Linked DNA regions of Homo sapiens: all the other regions are linked to region 3. The links are contacts of gene promoters, found by promoter capture Hi-C in blood cells and fetal thymus (Javierre and others, 2016). All regions are on one chromosome and are shown on one strand. The core of a region is centred on a gene start or on the middle of the fragment in contact, and the rest is flanking DNA. Distances in the headings are between cores, read along the strand shown. Region 1 overlaps SRGAP2 (SLIT-ROBO Rho GTPase activating protein 2). Region 2 holds the start of LOC105372880 (a long non-coding RNA gene). Region 3 holds the start of PIGR (polymeric immunoglobulin receptor). Region 4 overlaps EIF2D (eukaryotic translation initiation factor 2D). Region 5 holds the start of DYRK3 (dual specificity tyrosine phosphorylation regulated kinase 3). Region 6 overlaps DYRK3 (dual specificity tyrosine phosphorylation regulated kinase 3). Region 7 has its middle 5.8 kb from the start of EIF2D.

What was found. The method cuts DNA at HindIII sites, captures the fragments that hold promoters and counts their contacts. A CHiCAGO score of 5 or more calls a contact.
Region 1: a fragment that was not itself captured here is called in contact with the fragment with the promoter of PIGR in region 3 in 4 of 17 cell types (activated CD4 T cells, non-activated CD4 T cells, naive CD4 T cells and 1 more); the score reaches 10.2 in activated CD4 T cells.
Region 2: a fragment that was not itself captured here is called in contact with the fragment with the promoter of PIGR in region 3 in 2 of 17 cell types (endothelial precursors and naive CD4 T cells); the score reaches 6.4 in endothelial precursors.
Region 4: a fragment that was not itself captured here is called in contact with the fragment with the promoter of PIGR in region 3 in 1 of 17 cell types (non-activated CD4 T cells); the score reaches 6.0 in non-activated CD4 T cells.
Region 5: a contact is called between a fragment that was not itself captured here and the fragment with the promoter of PIGR in region 3, in 12 of 17 cell types (non-activated CD4 T cells, total CD8 T cells, M2 macrophages and 9 more). The highest score is 9.7, in non-activated CD4 T cells.
Region 6: a fragment that was not itself captured here is called in contact with the fragment with the promoter of PIGR in region 3 in 9 of 17 cell types (non-activated CD4 T cells, naive B cells, activated CD4 T cells and 6 more); the score reaches 8.4 in non-activated CD4 T cells.
Region 7: a fragment that was not itself captured here is called in contact with the fragment with the promoter of PIGR in region 3 in 1 of 17 cell types (activated CD4 T cells); the score reaches 6.3 in activated CD4 T cells.

Annotation. Positions count from the first base shown.
Region 1 is chr1:206,454,156-206,456,855 of GRCh38, reverse strand. It overlaps SRGAP2 (SLIT-ROBO Rho GTPase activating protein 2), which reads right to left. Exons shown (of 23, transcript NM_015326.5): 21 at 1,832-1,978. Among named protein-coding and RNA genes, the nearest start is that of IKBKE, 15 kb to the left of the region's middle. RefSeq lists an enhancer at 1,508-2,179. The HindIII fragment of the contact is 257 bases long and covers 1,268-1,524 here.
Region 2 is chr1:207,416,169-207,418,868 of GRCh38, reverse strand. It overlaps LOC105372880 (a long non-coding RNA gene), which reads right to left and starts at 2,524. Exons shown (of 3, transcript XR_922484.2): 1 at 2,257-2,524. LOC124904498 (a long non-coding RNA gene) reads left to right here and starts at 2,635. Exons shown (of 2, transcript XR_007066848.1): 1 at 2,635-2,700. The HindIII fragment of the contact is 500 bases long and covers 1,102-1,601 here.
Region 3 is chr1:206,945,179-206,947,894 of GRCh38, reverse strand. PIGR (polymeric immunoglobulin receptor) reads left to right here and starts at 1,429. Exons shown (of 11, transcript NM_002644.4): 1 at 1,429-1,559. The HindIII fragment of the contact is 20,587 bases long and covers 1-2,716 here.
Region 4 is chr1:206,596,503-206,599,362 of GRCh38, reverse strand. It overlaps EIF2D (eukaryotic translation initiation factor 2D), which reads left to right. Exons shown (of 15, transcript NM_006893.3): 11 at 271-360; 12 at 2,168-2,263. Among named protein-coding and RNA genes, the nearest start is that of EIF2D, 15 kb to the left of the region's middle. The HindIII fragment of the contact is 1,252 bases long and covers 645-1,896 here.
Region 5 is chr1:206,633,178-206,636,185 of GRCh38, reverse strand. It overlaps DYRK3 (dual specificity tyrosine phosphorylation regulated kinase 3), which reads right to left and starts at 650. Exons shown (of 3, transcript NM_003582.4): 1 at 406-650. The coding sequence starts at 482. It overlaps DYRK3-AS1 (DYRK3 antisense RNA 1), which reads left to right and starts at 518. Exons shown (of 2, transcript NR_183645.1): 1 at 518-586; 2 at 1,203-1,990. RefSeq lists silencers at 211-320, 371-790. The HindIII fragment of the contact is 758 bases long and covers 1,351-2,108 here.
Region 6 is chr1:206,649,679-206,652,708 of GRCh38, reverse strand. DYRK3 (dual specificity tyrosine phosphorylation regulated kinase 3) reads right to left here. Exons shown (of 3, transcript NM_003582.4): 3 at 1-3,030. Among named protein-coding and RNA genes, the nearest start is that of DYRK3-AS1, 16 kb to the right of the region's middle. The HindIII fragment of the contact is 2,743 bases long and covers 12-2,754 here.
Region 7 is chr1:206,616,702-206,619,757 of GRCh38, reverse strand. No RefSeq gene overlaps it. Among named protein-coding and RNA genes, the nearest start is that of EIF2D, 5.8 kb to the right of the region's middle. The HindIII fragment of the contact is 5,781 bases long and covers 1-3,056 here.

The sequences.
Region 1 (2,700 bases), core at 147-2,646, 490 kb after region 3:
GAGAACCTGGGCACTCGGGAAACTCAAGGAATTTGGGAGGAGGAGTGGCGTGGGGGGCAGGAGGTAAGACTCAAAGGCCGACTCACTTCTAAGGGCCAGACATGCCCCGGGGCCACCGCTCACCCACCCACCAGGTGATGAGGCTTGTCCTCCAAGAACCCCATCCCAAGACTCCTGACACCAGCAAACAAGGAGTTCAAGGGAACCACCTTAACTGTCTACAGATACTCTTTTTTTTTCTTCTTCTGTTTACCATTTCAGTTATTACTCTCTACAATTTCTATGCACAAATGGCATCAAATATATGATGGCTTAAAAATATGTACTTAACTAATTATCTAACTCTTCCTCCACCAACCCCGCCTTGGTTTCTGAGTTAATTATAGGATCACGACCTTTTGATTGTAGGGTTACAATTTAACACAGAATTGTAAATAAGGAAAAAAATGTGATTAGCCCACAGTTACTTGATATTGGCTTGCCCTCCCAGCAGGGCAGTGTGCTGGAGGGAAACAGAAACTTCTCAATTTTTTTTTAACTGGTCTGAATTAAATTATAACTACACTGAGTAAGTGATCTGAATAAACGACTTTACTAACTTGAGGGTGAAAGAGATGGAAAAGAGCCACGTGCCCCAACCACTCCCCCTGCTACCGTCTGGGTGGAAAAAAGCCAAGAGATCTGGGAAACCTGGTATAGTTTAAAAACAACAAGCATCCTTTATTCTCCTTCCAGTCTCAGTGTCCAGAGGCTACGGTTAACAGGTTTTCAAAGTGCAAATCATTTCATTCCTCAAAAGCCAGAGGGGAATAAAAACTGTACATCATCTCCAATCCATATTCATCAGGAGCGCCCTGGGGCTTGTCATCCTGCTGGCACGGGGCCAGGTTTCAGGGCCTGGCGGAAAGAGGTCTGTAGGCTTTGGGACTTGGTGTCTGGCCCCTTGAGATGAGATTAGTTCTCCAATAACCTGAATGCCTCTTGGGGAGGCGGCAGCACGCAGGCGTAGAATCCCTCTAGACAGCCAGATCGGGCGTGGGTGGAGTTTAAACCCCAGGATGTTGCTAACAGCCACAATGAAAGCTGGGGGTCAGAGGTAAGAGCCTGCTGAGCAGGAGTGGGGATCTGCAAAGGGACTAAGGGGGTAGAATAATACAAAAGGCCAAAGCAATAGGAACAAAATGGAAAATTATTTCTCCTGGTGTGAAAGGGCAGAAGAAAAGGGAGCTAGGGGTTAGCCAATGAATGAAGAGCTCAGGACAAAGCTTTCCTTAGGGACATCGTGGCCTCCTTTCCTCCACAGGAGTGAATGCAGGACAGGGGGAGGAACAGACACATGATATCTCAATAAACCCACCTGGTGTAACATCAGCCTAGTAGAAGCCACACACAGACTCTGAATCTTTGCACGAACACGGGTCAAGGAAGACAGACATCAAAGACTATTATTTGAGTATGGATTGGAAAAAAGAAGGCACCTCTGAGAAACAGTACAAAACCAGGTTGCATAAAGTGACCAAAGCTTTGGTCAAAGTTTTAGCTGTAAGACTGCCACAAAGGTCTGGGTGGACAGACACTGCGGGAACACACAGTAAAGCACCCTTCCACAGCACGAGGGCAGCTAGCTGGAGACCTGGACCTGCCCCGAGGCTTGTAGCAGCATCCTCAGCCCTGTCCGCCTTGCAGCAGCAATGACCACATGCAAACTGTTAGGCTGGGGGAGCTGGGAGCCCTACGTGCAGCACAGGAATGGAGATGGGGGTTAGGCCAGAGGGTGAGGCTGGGTGTTGCAAGTCATTCAGGGGAGCAGAAAATGAAAAGCAGAGCTTACTTGTTGATGTTTGCAAGATAAATATCGGCTACATGACCCCCACTGGGACAGCTGGCCCCCGCTCTGGCTGTCACCTTTTCTTCAGGTGGCTCAGAAATGACCTCAATCTCAGACTTGGGGCTGGACCTCTCCACGACACCGTCCTCGCTGGGGGAGAAGGGGCAGGCAGGCAGGGAGGAGGGAAAACAACAACAACACAAAAAGCAGCGTTAAATCGGCAAGATGGCCCCCCGACATACACGCGACCCCACACAGCTCTGAGGCAGCAGCGACACCTGGCTGGACTAGTTCTGTGAGCAGAGGCAAGGAAACCTAAGGGCCTTTGAAGGGTCGTTTAAATAAAAATAAATAATCCGCTGAGTTCTGCGGGCTCCTCAGCTCCTCAGGAAAGCGTGGCTAGGGGACACCTGGATTCGAGGCATCTGCCTTCTACCCCATGCTGCTTCCTGGGGAGGCCGTGCTGGGGCGGCCTCCTGGAGAAGGAGGCGGCAAGTCCAGGTTGTGGTTTATCGGCTGAGGTCCTGAGCACTGCCGGGTAAGGACAGTCAACTGTGTGGTGGCTCTGGAGACGGCGGCGTCGTGGCAGGACACCGCCACACACTGTCGTAGCGCCTCTAGCCCCGCTCAGAGCATCCAAGCCGGTCCCAGGTCTCTCCACTGCTCTCCTGGCCCCTCTGGCTACTGATGACAAAGAAAGCCCCTTCTCCCCCACAATTCATCTTCTCTTGATCCTGTGGTGAAGTCATAATGCTAAATTTGGGAGGGTCCTGTCCACGCACAGATTGCCACCAGGTTTGCGATGCTATCAACAGAGGGAGGATTTCCCTGCAGAACGAGCCGGGAAGAGGCTGGGAGGGTGCAGACTCACT
Region 2 (2,700 bases), core at 102-2,601, 470 kb before region 3:
ATGTCTCTGTCCTGTGAACTTTACCTTCCTAGCTTCCTTGATCTCCCCATACTCTCAGTATTGTCTCAACTTAGGTAGTTCACTGCCCTCCACTTTCATTCCCCTTCCCTGTGCAGCAGTCTGGAGATTCTTTCAAGACAGTAAAGTAGGGCAATCATAAGTCTTACATCATTTGTTTCCCATCTCACAGGGATCCCAGTCCTTCATTATCTGATGTCCAATGTCTTTCAAATAATTGTTTCCTATATGTCATCTATTTTTTTGTTATGTAGGCGGGAGGATAAACCCAGTTCCTCTTTTCCACCTTTGCTGGAAGCAGAAATTTCCTTTATGGTTAGATACCTTCCTCTACAATATACTTAGAAAGCTCTGACATTCTCCAGTCTATTCAGCATAGGTCACCTTTGAGTTTAGGTTTTAGTCAACCAGTGGAGCAGATTTTTAGAGCCACTCCCAGTTGTCTAAGCTAATGCATCAAACCCAGAATCTTTTGTTAGTGCTCTCATGCTGAAAATGCACTAATGCTAGCACTCACCTGGTAAAAATATATATATGACATATTTCTTTCACTCTGGTCTAACATGTTTAAGATCCACTCCCATTTATATTCCCTGGATTTCTACAGACATAAATAAGAGAAATCTGGAAATTCTTTCCATGTATATAATACTTCCTCCCAGGTCACACATAAAATCAAGCCTGGGGAGCTGAGAGAACTTAAAAATAATTATAGATCTAGAACCAATGAGAGCTGCTGGAGGTGGGTCTTGATGAGGATCAGCATTCCCCTCCAAGGTAACTTCTTTGGGAAGTTCATTAAAGCCTCTTCAAAATAAACATTTCTCATTGTAAGTCTGTCACCCACAGGATATAACTTTAGTTCTTTTTTTTGTTTTGTTTTTCTTTTAAGAAATGTTTACTCGTTGACTACGTGAGATAATTTTGGGGGGGCCTTCAAAAAATTTCTTGTTCTTTATTCAAGCTTGAATTGAGAATTTAAAGTCTTGATCATATAATTTTCTTTCTCCAAGTTCTCTGATTCAGAATCAGTCAGTAAACCATATAGTCTTTATGTTATCTTCATTTCTATTAAAATAAGCTTTATAGGCAGATGCAAAGATGAGAACGACATTTATTTTACTCACAGTTGTAGGAGGTGCAATGTTGCGCTTGTTCATACAACTTCTAAATATGAGATTAATCAGCTTTGCCCACTGTATGCTAAGTAGGTAGGGTTTGTAACAAAGTTATTTAGGTATCTTCATGTGGATCATTACTACCATGTTTCAACAGTAAAGCCAATAGGATTTGCTCTGTTGCCCATGCTGGAGTGTGATGGTGCGATCATAGCTCACTGCAAACGTACCCAACCATAAGAGATAGTTAAGTAAAGTAGGGTATATCTATGGAATATTATTACATGCCTTTACAAAAATAATAAAATACTTATGAAACATTGAGAAGTAAAAAAAAAGCAGCATGAAACAAGAAAAAGTCATTTATAAAACCAAATTTTCTAGTGGCTACTTCAGCATTTTAAAAGAATGACAGAATAGCAAAATTCTTCTTGGGGAAAAACTGCTCTTTTGTTTAGGGAAGCTTGATGAAGGAAGTTCTTTTGCTCTGGGAGGCAAGGCCACAGGCCAGTCTAGATAGGGAGAGGTTTCAAAAAATCAGGAGCCAAATTATTCAGTGTGACAGAATAACAAGAGTTTTTAGTTTTTACGTTGATGGCCTGAAAGATAGAATGCTGGAGCACATGATCAGGAAAGAGAGGCAGCAAAAAGATCAACAAGGTTGTAGTAGGCCAGGGAGCAGTGAAAGGTTGTTTCTGTAGTGACAATAAACATCTCCTAATTGCATGAGAATACCTGCTCCGGAATTTTTTTTTTTTTTTTTTTTTGAGTCAGAGTCTCACTCGGTCGCCCAGGTTGGAGTGCAATGGCGCGATCTCTGGTTCAATACAAACTCCGCCTCCCAGGTTCAAGCAGTTCTCCCACCTCAGCCTCCTGAGTAGCTGGGATTACAGGCGCCCACCACCACGCCCGGCTATTTTTGTGTTTTTAGTAGAGACAGGGTTTCACCATATTGGCCAGGCTGGTCTCAAACTCCTGACCTCGTGATCCGCCTGCCTCGCTGCTCTGAATTTTTACCTTTATATTCTACATATTATATGATGTTTTTAATTAGAAGAAAAGAGCATGATAGTTATTCCAAGTCAGGTAATGGTTGGATAAAAAATAATGATTATCTTACCTATCAGTTGCTGAACTGAGGCCCAACTGGTTAACTAGTTGGTTGGATGTATACACTAGGTCAGTGCAGGTTAGCAAATTTGTGCAACATTGACACCTACTATTTGTTTTTAACTTGTTTTTCTGCTTTCTTTTGGCAATAATCTTCTGCTATTGCTAAACCTTTAAAAATGCTTTTTAAAAAACATGTCCAGCAGCAATGTGTTTTTGGTGTTTGGGGAAATACAGGAATGGGAGCTAGATGATAAAAGGAAATGATAGCAGGTGCATAGGAGGAGTCAGATTGAGTCGAGGTCAGCTAGAACACACTGTTTAATAGAACTTTCTACAACAATGAAGTGTTCTAGATCTGTACTACCTAATACAATAGCCACTAGCCATATGTGCCTACTGAATATTTAAAATATGGCTAGTGTGACTGGGAGCTGAAGTTTCCATTTTATTT
Region 3 (2,716 bases), core at 180-2,679:
CCATCATCCTCATCAAACTAACACAGGAACAGAAAACCAAACACCACATGTTCTCACTCATAAATGGGAGCTGAACAATGAGAACACACGGACACAGGGAGGGGAACATTACACATCCGGGCCTGTTGGGGGGGGTGGGGGGAGGGAGAGCATTAGAACTAATAGCTAATGCATGTGGGGCTTAATACCTAGGTGGTGGGTTGACGGGTGCAGGAAACCATCATGGCACACGTTTACCTGTGTCACAAACCTGCACGTTCTGCACATGTAATCCTGGAACCTAAAACAAAATAAAAAAAGAAAATCTAAGTTTGCAAACCACAAAAAAAGAGAGAAATTAAGCTACATAAAGAAATTATGGGGTTTTTTTGCTTGCCATTGAAATCTGTGATTGTGTGTTAACACCCACAAGTGAGCCAGTGGTTAGCTAAAATAAGACCCAGGGCTCTGGCTGCCTTGTGTTTCTCCAGGGCTCTATTTCTCTATTTTTCCTTCCCCTTCTGGTGTTTGGCCTATAGGACTCTGTAGGGAGAGCCTGGGTCAGCCCTGCACAGGTAGGATGGGCAGCATTTCTGTGGGGGTTTGCAGTGAGGGGTCGGGGGGCCATACACGTGTGTGTTGGGGAGTGGGCTTCACTTTTGTCACAGGACTGCCACGATCATTTGGGGAACACCTGGGAGTCCCAACCAGGTCATGTTTTGGCATGGACTAACAGATAGGGAAGGAGGTGCTACTTCAGCTCAGCAGGTCAGCACCGTCCTTGCTATGGAGCCGAGCCCGGGTCCTAACAAGACTCTGAGGTCAGCCATGTTCAGGGGAGCCCAGAAGCAGCGAGTCTTTCATGACTCTGGGGAGTGAAACAGGAAGGGCCACAGTCCTGCCAGTTCCTGGAGCTCTGGGACTGGTAAAAGGGGCTTGGCAGGAGGTGTATAAGGGGCATTTTTGTCCAGGCTAAGTAACCTAGGGAGTCGGAGGGGATTCCAGAGCAACTGGGGATATGAGACCAAGGACTACGACAGCCACTCCTGCCACCTGTGCCCCATCAGATGATGTCAACTTCAAATCAAGCATTGGGCCAGGTATTTTAGAGCTAATACCGGGCTATATCCTCTACCTGTAGATTTGGTATTACCATCCCTCTTTTCCAGATGAAAAGAAATAGGAAGGTGACTTGCCAAAGGTCTTGCAGCTAGAAAGCGACAGAACAGCATCTTCACGCTTGACATTCTGTCCCTCATCCTGAAGCTGCAACGATGGAGGATTCCCAAGTAACAGAGTCTCCCCAAGGTCAAAGGAAACCAAATGGAGCCAGCCAGGAAGGCCAAAATGAAAGGAAAGCAAGGGATCTGTGAGAGTCACATGACCCTGGCTGGCCACGGTGCCTGTGGGAGAGTGGCCCTTTAAGAGCCCAGGTGTGGGTCAAACACTGAGCAGAGTTTCAGTTTTGGCAGCAGCGTCCAGTGCCCTGCCAGTAGCTCCTAGAGAGGCAGGGGTTACCAACTGGCCAGCAGGCTGTGTCCCTGAAGTCAGATCAACGGGAGAGAAGGAAGTGGCTAAAAGTAAGTGTTACTGCTCTGGGATCCCCAGACGGGATGCTATCTGGAAAGGGCTCGGGACGATGGCTCAGGTAACCCCCTCCATTCCCAACTCCCAGTCTCCTAGATAGTGGGGTGACAAGGACAAGGAGGCAGACTGTGTGACTGTGTGTGGCTGGGGAGTAAGCGTGCATATCGCAGTGGGACGAGTAGGGATGCACGTGTGTGGAAGCCCCCCATCCTTTTCTGAGAAATATCAGCAGGTGGGAAGGGACCTCTGTGGTCAGCATATGTAATTCTACTCTTTCAGCTTGGTCTGTGCCTGGATTTCCTAACTCCTCATAGTTGATTAACTGTGTGGCCTTAGACAAGCCACCTAACCTCTCTGATCCTCAGTTTCTTAATCTGTAAAACAAAGATAGAAATAACACCTATCATTCAGGGTCAATGTGGGTTCAAATGAGAAAACACAGGTGAAATAGCTTTGTAACCTCTAGAATGAAATAGGAATTGTTTCATATTTTTCAGTTTAGTTTAATTAATCAAGGATTTATTGAACACCAACAGACCTGGAATTAGATAGTGCGCATAAAGTATGGCACCTAGCAAGTCCTCTTCCATTCTTTGAGGTTTCCCACTTGTGGCTTTCTGGCAAAGGCATGTTCAGCTCCTTTTTTCTGGGCTTCCAAGAACCTCTGAAATCCTTTGCAATTCCACCTCGCTTTGCTCTAGCAGATTCCTGCCATGGGAGACATAAATGTGTGTCATCGCATCATCCTGCCCTTCCTAGAGGTAGAAAAAAAGAGGTCCTCACGGGATCACTGAGTGAGGTGGAGCTGAGCCCCACAGGCAGCATGATCAACTCCTGCTGTTCCTCCTGGCTCTGCAGCCAGCAGATCTCAGACATGGGCTTCCCCTCCCTTTGCCCATCCTGACAGCAGCCCAAGCCAGCAGTGGGACCGTCCGGCACAAGGGCAGCAGCGGGTCAAGCTCCATCCCTGACCCCCAGTTCCCTTTGTGCAATTGCCACAGTGCCTGGGGCCATTGAAGCTGCTCCTATTTTGTGCCATCACTTTCCCCCTTCACTAGGGGAATTATAGATCCTTTAACATCTGGAGAGGAGATGCCAATTTCAGGGGTTTAGGTAGAAGGCAGCTGTCTGGTGCCTGGACATAGGTCTT
Region 4 (2,860 bases), core at 21-2,520, 350 kb after region 3:
CTGCCCCTGTTCTCCCCTTCTCCAAAATCCAGCTTCCAGCCTTCTTCCCTGGGCAAGTTCCTCTGGACTAAATGAACGAGTAGGTCTCACCCTTTTCTGCGTGTAATTATTCTTCACATGGTCATGCTCACTTCAGTCAGGAAAAGGGAAGAAACTAGAGGCCGAAAGCTAAGGAAAGTTCCCTGCTCAGCAGGGAGTGAGTCTGGGCATCTGCATTTTTGTCTCATGGCACAGCATGAACTAACCCCTGGGTCACTTCTCCTCACCTAGGAAGGGGAGCTTTCTGGAGGGCAGTGAGGTCCGAACGATCGTCATTAACTACGCCAAGAAAAATGACCTGGTTGATGCAGACAACAAAAAGTGAGTGCATGAGAAGCACCAGATCTGTCTTATTGGGTCTTTGTCTTTATCAGACATAGACACATTTGGGGAGGATGTCTGGGAGGGAGAATAGAAAACCATAGCATCTTAGAGGTAATTAAGATCAGTGGTTTCCAAACCATGGGCTGTGGACACTCAGTTATTGTCTGGGGTGTTCAGATCCATGTATACGATCAACATTGACTACCGACTAAGTAAATATTCTCTCACAAATACCCATGAATCATCTTTAATTGGCTATTGTGAGGAATAAAATGCAAGCTTACAAAGAATTTACTGAAGTCATCATAGCTTTAGGTATTTATTTTTATTGATAGATATTTGTACATATTTATGGGGTGCATGGTATTTTGTTACATGCACAGAGTGTATAACGATCAAGGCAGGGTATTTGGGGTATCATCACCTTGAGTATTTACCATTTCTATGTGTCGGGAACACTGTAAGTCCTCTTTTCTAGCTATTTTGACATACACAATACATTGTTGTTAACTACAGTCACCTTACTCTGCTCTCAAAGACTAAACTTATTTCTTCTATCTAACTGTATATTTGTACCCATTATGGTATTATTTTCTTAAAAGGAGATACAGATGGTAAACTACCAGATGAAGAGAGTTCCATTAATTGTTTTTTACTTTAATGGCCGGACACTGTGGCTTATGTCTGTAATCCCAACATTTTTGTAGGTTGAGGTGGGAGGATTGCTTGAGGCCAGGGGTTTGAGACCCACCTGAGCAGCATGATGAAACCCTGTCGCTACAAAAAATACAAAAATTAGCCGGGCATGGTAGGGCATGCCTGTAGTCTCAGCCACTTGGGAGGTTGAGGTGGGAGGATCGCTTGAGCCCAAGAGGTTGAGGCTGCAGTGAGCAATGATGATGCCACTGCACTGCAACCTGGGTGATACAGTGAAACCCCATCTCAAAAAAAAATTTTTTTTTCACTTTAAAAAAACATCATCATGATAAAAAAGTTGAGACATACCAGCCTAATCTAATACCTTCATTTTATTTTATGTTTTATTTTTATTTTTGAGACAGAGTTTTGCTCTTGTTGCCCAGGCTGGAGTGCAATGGTACAATCTGTGCTCACTGCAACCTCTGCCTCCCAGGTTCAAGCGATTCTCCTGCCTCAGCCTCCCAAGTAGCTGGAATTACAGGGATGCGCCACCATGCCCGGCTAATTTTTGTATTTTTAGTAGAGACGGGGTTTCACCATGTTGGCCAGGCTAGTCTTGAACTCCTGACCTCAAGTGATCCACCCATCTCGGCGTCCCAAAGTGCTGGGATTACAGGCGTGGGCCACTGCGCCCGGCCCTATTTTTAGTAGAGATGGGGTTTTACCATGTTGGCCAGGCTGGTCTTGAACTTTTGACCTCAGGTGATCCTCCCGCCTCAGCCTCCCAAAGTGCTGGGATTACAGGCGTGAGCCACTGCACCTGGCCAACACCTTCATTTTAAAGATCCCCACTTCCTTTCTTTCTTCCTCACTAGCCAATTTTGATGCTAAGCTTAGAAAGCTGTGGTCACATGCTTAGTTAGTAGCAAAGGCTCCTGATCTTCAAATTTATCCCATCTCACTTTCCCTTCCACCTCCTGCTTTTCCTAGGAAAGCATTCGTGTATCTCCCACCCATAAGGTACATTGCCTTTTGGACTGTGGGCCCATAATTGATTCATATCCTGAATGTCTATAAAGGCCGTACGAGAGATGAATCCTGAATTAGCCTTCAGGTCAGAAGGGACAAGTCTAGGATTTCTTCATTGCCTCTTCTTTCCCTTTAGTCTTGTGAGATTGGATCCCATCCTATGTGACTGCATCTTAGAGAAAAATGAACAGCATACAGTCATGAAGCTTCCATGGGACAGTCTTCTGACCAGGTAACGAGCATTGGCAGTCCCTCTCCAACTTTTCTATCCCCTCGCCTTAATGTTGATCACATTGAACTTTAATACTGTCACTATCTTAGCCTTTGATTTTCTTTCTGTAATTCATACCAAGTCAGTCTACATAAACACAGGCTTGAGGAACTCTGATTTGGGGGGTCTTTGGAACAATTTGAGCCAATATGACATGGGAGAGCTTGAAAGGAAGAACAAAAAGGAACATTAATTAAAAATAAGAACTTCAGGCAGGCATAGTGGTGCATGCCTGTAGTCCCAGCACTTTGGGAGGCGGAGGCGGTAGGATTGCTTGGGCCCAGGAGGTGGAGGCTGCATTGAGCCATTTTCATGTCACTGCACCCCAGCCTGGGTGACAAGGTGAGACCCTGTCTCAAAAAAAGAACTTACTCTGTTAAAGTGAGGGCATTTAAAAAAATAAGAAAAAATAAAATAAAACTTCAATAAGATGCAGAAGCAAAAGAAGGCTGGGGAAAAGTGTCTTAAAGTCTTTAAAGGAAAAATTTTTAATATTCCTTCTTTTCCACATAACTGAAAATAGTTTATTGTCAGGAGTCAGCAAACTACAGCCCATGG
Region 5 (3,008 bases), core at 480-2,979, 310 kb after region 3:
CCCAAGAGTTCAGCCGTTGGTTATCCGCTCTAAGCAACAGGGCTTCTTTCCAAGGTATTGCTCCCGGGCTCCCCCCCTTTAATAAAAAGCCCCACAAAAAGTCCTAGATTTTCGTAATCCCTTAACATATACCCCGATCTAGGGTTTCAGAGGGAATCCAGGGGTGGAAATTCTTCTTGCTCTAACTCCGCTCTAGCCCCGTCCCCCGCGCCCGGTGAGACAGGGATGGGGGGAGGGGGCCCTGATAGAGAGGAGGTGGGGGCGGTCCCGGGGAGGCAGTCAGACCCCTGCCCTCGTCCCTCCTACTGAGGGCTCACTCTACCTCCTCCCCACCCCCAAGCTTCGCTTGCCAGCGCCAGCCGCTCCCTGTGGCGCCTCCAGCCCGTTACCCCGTGGCGCCGTTACCTCCGCTGCTGGGGCGGGAGCCCGGCCCCAGGCGGCCCCGCATCCTTCCGCCCAGGCCCACGAGCTGTGCCTCCCATCTCCTAGCTCGGGACCCCGCGCGGGGAGAGGCGCCAGTTGGGGGTCCGGTCGGCCACGCCACCTACGCCGGGACGGCTGCCTCCGCGGCGCGACGCTCCCACGGGTACTCTCGACCAGACACTGCAGCTCAGCGCACTTTCGCTCCCGACTGGCCCCGGCTGGGAAGTGGGGAGACGCAGCTCCAGGGGCGGGAGGGGGAGCGGTCTGGTCGCCTAGCAACCGCGGCACGCCCCCGGGAAACGCCTCGGCGCAGCTACGGGCTGACGCACAGGGGCGGGGCCCGTGGCCGGTAAAGGCCACGCGGCGCTCCTAGCGGGTGCTAGTACTGGCGCGGGAGGCGGGAGGTTGGAGGCGAGGAGCTCGCGGCCTAGGCTGTTTGGGTCCCTGGCGCGAGCTGTAGACGGAGAGAGGGGTCCGGAGAAGGAGGGGTGAAAGTAGCAGTTAGCCCGCGATCTCAGAAGGGCTGCCCGCCCCTCACGGTCCCTTAATAGCACGTTGCGTCCTGGAAGTTCTAAAACGTCCCGCTTCAATATGAATTTTAAATTAGTGAAAACATATGTGTATTGTTTTAGGCTTTCCCACCGCGGGGACGGCCCTCCGGGGGTTGGTGAGTTACATAAGAAAGCAATAATAATAAACCCATTTATTGACACGATGCTTCCATTTATGAACATTTGATCTCAGTAACGGAGGTACCCGACGACTTTCGTCTTTTACAGACTTAGCTGGGATGCAGAATAGAAGCTGGGCCTTTGTCTGACTACCCTGCAACAGTCAGCCACAGACGGGAAGGCAGCGCAGGAAACTGAGGCCAAAGGAGCCGCGCTTCCTCATGAGCATGAAGCGGCAAAGCCTGAACTAGAAGCTTCTAACGCCTAACCGTCCTCTTGCCGCACCAGGACCTACCTCTGCAAGGCCCTTCCTGACTTTTTCCTTAGAATGTGTGTATATGTGTCTTTTTCCTTTTCTGATGCTAAGACACCTCAGAAACACCAATGTTAAGCAGATTTCCATCGTTGGAGGTTAAAACACCCGAATACAAGTGTTTTCTTGAGTGTGGCATCTGGTCAGATGTTTTATGGGTTGGTTTGTTTTTAAAAAAAAAAAATTTCCTGTTAGATGGGTGGTAAGAACCAGTCAGAGTTTGTAAACCCACCAAGCACGAGGCGGTCGGACCGTCCAGATTCTGGAGTCCAGAAGACACCAAACGTTCTCAGAATGCCGAACGCGGGCGCCACCTGGTGGGACTAGAACGCTTATTGTCCCAAATCAGCATAGCACACAGTTCCCATAAATCTTAAAAATTCCCATCCAAGGCTCATTTCCGTGTGACTAAAAGTCATATTCTCTGTTCTCGTGACTCCAAGTAAAAATGTCCCTAAAGAGCCAAAGTATCTTCACTGTATAAACTAATAATCTATTGGTTTGGGGAATTTTATTTTTTGTGATCAATGTTACTTTAGCCTTTCTATGATATACATATAAATAAAAAAGTTTTCTTCCATGATGATTTTTTAAAGTTTATTTTATAAATAAACTTTTTCTTTTTGTCTCTCCCTTCCCCCACTTTGCAACCAGAGCAATTCTGCTTTCACAGGGGTTTGTATTTGGGCTCTTACGAAGCTTTTGTTTGAAGAAAGAGTTCCATGGCAACGCAAAGATTGGACGAGGTTACTGTTGAAGTCCCTTCCAGCTCTAAGATTGCAAAATTCTATTAAATAATCCCCGTTCTCAGTACTTATGTAGACACCTCAGACCACTTTACTGCCCTCCCTAAACAGTTGAATGAGACTTGCCCCCACATGATTTCTTACCTCATTCTGAATCACTGCTCGTGAGAGGATTGCATCCGCAGTCTGTGCTTAAGACACATCTTCCAGAGCCAAGTGGAAGGGTTCCTGCTCCCTTTCTTGCTCCTAAGGTGGGAAATACAGAGGCCGCCTTTGTCTTTCGCCTATTGTTCCCATGGTCAAGGGAAAGAGGACTCCTCGAGGGTGCTGGAGCTTCATAAATCTCTGACCTTAGTGACCCAATGTTTCTTCAAAGATCCCCTGTATGATGGGGTTAACGTCCCATAAGGGATCTGGCAGGAGCCTCCACACCCCTGCTGAGCGCTGCCCTGTCCCCTCCAGCTCCCAAGCAGCTTCCACATCATTCATGCCCTTTCTTCCCCTCCAAAGCCTCATTCAAGAGTAGTTTAAAATCACCATTATCATTCTCCATGCAGTTAAAGTCAGATTTACCCACCATGAATTAGCCAAAAGTCATATAAGATGCATGTCTGTCCTTTGAAGCCAATTCCAAGACATCTGCAAAATAAGGTACCTGCAAGTTCTAATACATTGACTAAGGAAATAAACAACAGTAAAAAAGATGCAACTATTCCAGGATCTTAAAAACCCACTGGGACATTCACAATGTGATCAAAGTTTCAAATGCACAGATTAAGAAAACATCCCCGTGGCCACATTTACCTGGAATTTTGTGATAAAATAGCTGTTAGTAGGTTATGTTAAGTTTGGACA
Region 6 (3,030 bases), core at 134-2,633, 300 kb after region 3:
GTCCCTAAGCTTGAAACCCAACCATAAACTTCCTCAAATCCATGTGGACGAGCACCATGTTTTTAAGCAGCCCACTCTCCTCAAACTTGAATTGGCCTGCAGAAGACAGGTATGCCAACTTCAATGACTCTGCTCTGCATCACTCTCTCGGTTGCCAAATTGAGGCAGAAACATCCATTTGCCTTCCTGTAGCTTTCTAAAATCTGTCTACAGTGTAATGAGTTGTCTATACACTTTCCCTTAGCCCAGTTTCAGTAACCTTGTAGTCCATTCGATACACAGAAATAGAGCACGCACCAACCTCAGCCACAGGCCCCTTTCTCTCCCAAGTTCAGGCACAGTACTGGCTAGAACTCTCACTAAAAACACAAACACCAAAACACAGTGTACATCAGATGCATATGGGGTAGTAATGCTTTTAACAGTTTGCTTACAGGAGCAGTTCTTCAACACTGATAACAACTGGCAAAACAACCTCAACATATGCTCTGCCTAGATAATGCAGGAGATCCTTAAATTTCTCCAAGTTAGAAAATTCAGGACAACAGCAATATGGTGTTAGAGACTTCAGATCTGTGTCAATCAGATATAGCCTTGCTGCCACCTAAAGATGTGCTCGCCACCCCACACATGGCTTTAGCAGCAGTTCCAAAGGCCAATGCATTCACTCTTGGAAGACAGTGTCAGCTGTCTTGACACTGCTGCTGGCTACATTTAACCAACTCTATGATGTGGTACCAGAGCCCAAGAAATACATCAAGCCAGATCATTCTGTCCAAACATCCCAAGGAAACATGTGCCTTGGACAGCACCTGAGTGGGAACAGGCTGCTAATGTTGATATAAAATGCAAAATAGTAAAAGTAGCATTTTCTCTAATTTACTATTCAGTGAGAAACCCATGCAGAAATCCAATGCAGCAAATTGTAGAGGTTCAATGCTCCCTGATCTGCAGTTAAGCCAGGTGTGCCACCTCCTTCATCTGACTTGGATCCTGCTCTGGACTTCAAGGAAACATCTACCTGGCTAGCAGTTCAAGGACTCGATATAAAAATAACTCATGCTTTGTTTCAACTGGAGGGTCATGACACTGTTGGGCCTACAGGAAAACCATTCATAAGTCAATGTAAGCTCATATCTACTGAAAGAGTAGATTTGAGTTTTTTGAGTAGATATGAGCTTTTACACCCTAAGTTACAATGAAAAGATTCACTGAAGAAGGATTCAATCATGCTGTACTACTTCCTGGAGTTGGCAGAGAAATCATCCATTTCTTGGTAGTTGAAAGAAGGCTGATCCAAGAACACAGTGAAGAGATGTTCCCATTTCTCAAGGTGTTTCATCTTCCTGGCCATGATGATTTAGCACCTGCAAAATTCCCAAACCTACGCAATGTGGTTAATGCGGGGAAGCAGACATTGGACTACCAACTTCCAAAGAGTCACTATCTCGACTAGCAGATCATGAGGTAGATGAGGCAGTTTCAAGACCTCCCTTGAAGAAGGCAGTGATGAATAAAGAAGAGGAGGATGGGTTATGAGCAGCATTTAGTGTGACATCTGAAGAGATCAAGATGCCACTATCAGACAAGAAAACCAATAACCAGACTAATTTCACACAGCTTCTTCAGGCAATGGAATCAAGAGATAGGATGCAGACTTAGAAAAAAAGAAAGAAAATTCAGCAGGAGTTAGAGGGATCTAAAGGAGTTGTATATTTATTGCCTTCTGTAAACCAGGAGTAAAGGAGATAATTAAGGTTTTAAATAATCCAGTTTCTTAGTCACCAAAAGTACCAAGACTTCCTCCTATTAATGAGGCTGAAGGCTCAGTTTAAGCTGTTCTCTGCCATCTGGCCCTTGTACTTGGGAGACTAAAGCCACTGTGGACATTTAAATGAGAGAGATTTGCACTCTCTCATTTTTCACAGCCTATGCTACAGCAATCATGACTACTTTTGGATAAAACAAAAGTTCCTTAAATAATATACTCATGGCATTTTTATTTTCTTTTCTTGTTCCTACACTGCCCAACAAAAAGAGTCTCTTCCAATGTCATTGAGTTTGCACCACATTCTAGAATAATAAATGGAACTGGATCATTCTGAGAACTATATTGTAAAAAGCAAATATTCTACTTTAAAGAACACACTTTTTTTGGTTTGTTTTTTAGACAGAGTCTCACTCTGTTGCCTAGGCTGGAGTGCAGTGGCATGATCTCAGCTCAAGTGATCCTCCCACCTCAGCCTCCCAAGTAGCTGGGATTACAGGCATGTGCCACTAGGCCTGGCTAATTTTTGTATTTTTTGTAGAGGCAGGGTTTCACCATGTTGCCCAGGCTGGTCTTGAACTCCTGGGCTCAAGGAATCCACCCACCTCAGCCTCCCAAAGTGCTGGGATTACAGGCATGAGCCACTAATACCCAGCCAAGAGCACACATTTAGGATAGAACTTGAGCATACTTTTGTTCTGGAAGAGGACAGAAATAGAGCAAGGGACAGGAAACAACAAACAAAACCCAGTAGCAGTGAGTTAGCTTCTGTCCCGTCTCCACCCTTGTAAGTAGGACACTGGCTTAACAATTAGTTTTATTATCAGCCCTCACTGTTTAAATCTTAGCAGAGAAAAAGAAAAGCTGTTGAAGAGAATAAAATTAAGAAACATAAAAAGGGAAAACTTGATTATCACCAGTTTCTGGATTTTTAGTTTTCTTCTTCTAACTGAAGTTCACTCAGATCTAGGGAATAGCATTAAGCTTAACGTGAAAGTGGGGGGAAAAATGTGGCACATTGAAGTGGCAGGTAGCTGTAAAGAGAAGAGGGAAGCATTTTTAAACTGTAGTAAGGTTTATCCGAGAGTGATTACTTTTATAAGGAAGAGATTCTATGAAAATGCAGCAAGGAGGCTGGTCCGTGGAGTACCACAAAGCTGGGGAACTGCAGTTTTCATGCTGATTCTCTATCTTTACCACTCTGGGTCAATTGTGGCAGAGAAGCTGTTTTATCTTCCTTGGGCATGGGAGAGGAAAGGAGG
Region 7 (3,056 bases), core at 515-3,014, 330 kb after region 3:
TCTATTTTTAGTTGAGACGAGGTTTCACCTTGTTAGCCAGGATGGTCTCGATCTCCTGACCTCGTGATCCACCTGCCTCAGCCTCCCAAAGTGCTGGGATTATAGGTGTGAGCCACCGCGCCCGGCCTTTTTTTTTTTTCTTTTTTTGAGACAAGGTCTCACTCTGTCACCCAGGTTGGAGTGCAGTGGTGGGATCTCGGCTCACTTCAACCTCTGCCTCCTGAGCTCAAGCGATCCTCCCACCTCAGCCACCCCCTTACCCCTTCCTTGGCTAATTTTTTGTTAGTTTTTTAGAGACAGGGTTTCACCATTTTGCCCAGGCTGGTCTTGAACTCCTGGGTTCAAGCGATCCACTCACCTTGGCCTCCCAAAATGCTAGGATTACAGGTACAAGCCATGGCACCTGGCCGTTTTCCAAAGTTATTTATCATTTTGCATTCCCACCAGCAATGCCTAAGAGTTCCAGTTGCTCCACATCCTTGCCACAACTTAACATTGTCAATTTTTTTTTTTTTTTTTGAAACGGAGTCTCACTGTCACCCAGGCTGGAGTGCAATGGCACGATCTTGGCTCACTACAACCTCTGCCTCCTGGGTTCAAGGGATTCTTCTGCCTCAGCCTCCCGAGTAGCTGGGATTACAGGCACCCGCCACCACACCCTGCTTTTTTTGTTGTTTTTTTAATATATATATATTTTTAGTAGAGACAGGGTTTCCCATGTTGGCCAGGCTGGTCTCAAACTCCTGACCTCAAGTGATCTGCCCATCTCAGCCTCTCAAAGTGCTGAGATTATAGGCATGAGCCACCATGCCTGGCCTTTGGTTTTGTTTCAACCATTCTAATAAATGTGTATGATATTTCATTGTGTTTAATTTGCATTTTCCTAATGATTAATGATGTTGATAATCTTTTCATGTGCCTAATTGTCATTCATCTAGTTTCTTTGGTGAAGTTCCTGTTCAAATCTTTTGTCCAATTTTTATTGGGTTGTTTCCTTATTATTAAGTTTTGACAGGTTTTTATATATTACAGATATAAATCTTTTTACCCAGTCCATGGCTAATCTTTTCATTTTCTTAACATGTCATATATATATATACACACACATATGTGTATATAAATACATATATATACATATATACACATATGTCATATATATACACATACACACACACATATATGTCATATATATACACACACACTTATATACACACACTTTTTTTTTTTTAAAGATGGGGTCTAGCTCTGTCACCCAGGCTGGAGTACAGTGGTGCAATCATAGTTACTGCAACCTCAAACTCCTAGGCTCAAGCAAGCCTCCTGCCTCTGCCTCCTATGTAGCTAGGACTTGTACAGGCACACATCACCACACTCAACTAATTGTTTTTTTTTTTTTCCTGGATCCGCTTGTTTCTATGCAATTGACTAATTTTTTTTTTTTTTTTTGAGATGGAGTCTCGCTCTTTTGCTCAGGCTGGAGTGCAGTGGTGCTATCTCGGCTCACTGCAACCTCCACCTCCCAGGTTCAAGCAATTCTCCTGCCTCAGCCTCCCGAGTAGCTGGGATTACAGGCGCCCGCCACTACACCTGGCTAGTTTTTGTATTTTTAGCAGAGACAGGGTTTCACCATGTTGGCCAGGCTGGTCTCAAACTGCTGACCTCAGGCGATCCACGTGCCTCGGCCTCCCAAAGTGCTGGGATTACAGGTGTGAGCCACCGCGACCGGCCACAACTGACTAATTTAAAAAAAATTATTTTTAGTAGAGACAAGGTCTGGCTATGTTGACTGGGCTGGTCTTAAACTCCCAGGCTCAAGTGATCTTCCTACCTCAGCCTTCTAAAGTGCTGGGATTTTAGGCATGAGCCACCATGCATCGCCAAAATATTATTTATTTGACAAATAAAAATTGTATTTTTTTTGTATTTTTTAAATGTACATTTATCATCTACAACATATTGTTTTTAAACATATAAATTGTGAAATGGCTAAATTGAACTGATTAACATATGTATTACTTCACATACTTTTTTATGATGAGAACACTTAAAATTTACTTATTTTGCAATTTTCCAGATTTTTTTTTTTTGAGATGGAGTCTGGCTCTGTCGCTCAGGTTGCAGTGCAGTGGTGCCATCTCGGCTCACTGTAACCTCTGTCTCCTGGGTTCAGGTGATTCTTGTGCCTCAGCCTCCCAAGTAGCTGGGATTACAGGCACTTGCTACCACACCCAACTAATTTTTGTATTTTTAGTAGAAACAGGGTTTGACTGTATGGGCCAGGCTGGTCTCAAACTACTGACCTCAAGTGATCCGCCTGCCTTGGCCTCTCAAAGTGCTGGGATTACAGGCGTGAGCCACTGTGCCTGGCTGGAATTTTCAAGATCTTAACCTGTCTTTTGAAGAGCAAAATTTATTCATTTTTATGAAGTCCAAATTGTTATTATTTATTTTAATGGGTCATGTTTACTGTGTCATATCTAAAAAATCTTTGTGTAACACAAGGTCACAAAGGTGTTCTCGTATGTTTTCTTTTAGAAGTTTTATGGTTTGTTTTCTATTCAGGTCTACAATCTGTTTTGAGTTTGTATGTGAATAGGCTGTGAGTTATGAATCAAGGCTTATTTATTTGCGTATTATAATCAATGAGCCTATATTGACATATCATTATCACTGCAAGTTCATAGTTTACATTATGGTTCATTAGGTGTCGTACATTCTGTGGGTCTGGACAAATGTATAATGACATGTACCCACTACTGTAGTGTCATACAGAAGCATTTCACTGCCCTAAAATCCTCTGTGCTCTACCTGTTCATCTTTCCCTCCCCCACGGATCTCTTTACTATCTCCATAGTTTTGCCTTTTCCAGAATGTTGTTGGGGTGATCAGACCCAACACCAGGTCGTGGGGGCGACGAAGTCCAGCAGAGTCAAAAGAATGAGAAAAAGACAGTTTGAGAGAGAAAGTGGGACCAGGGGACCATCGTGAGTGTGGAGGCTGCCAAGGCCCCGATTTCTGGGCGTCCATGGCTGCTTATTGGTGCTCAAACAAACAAA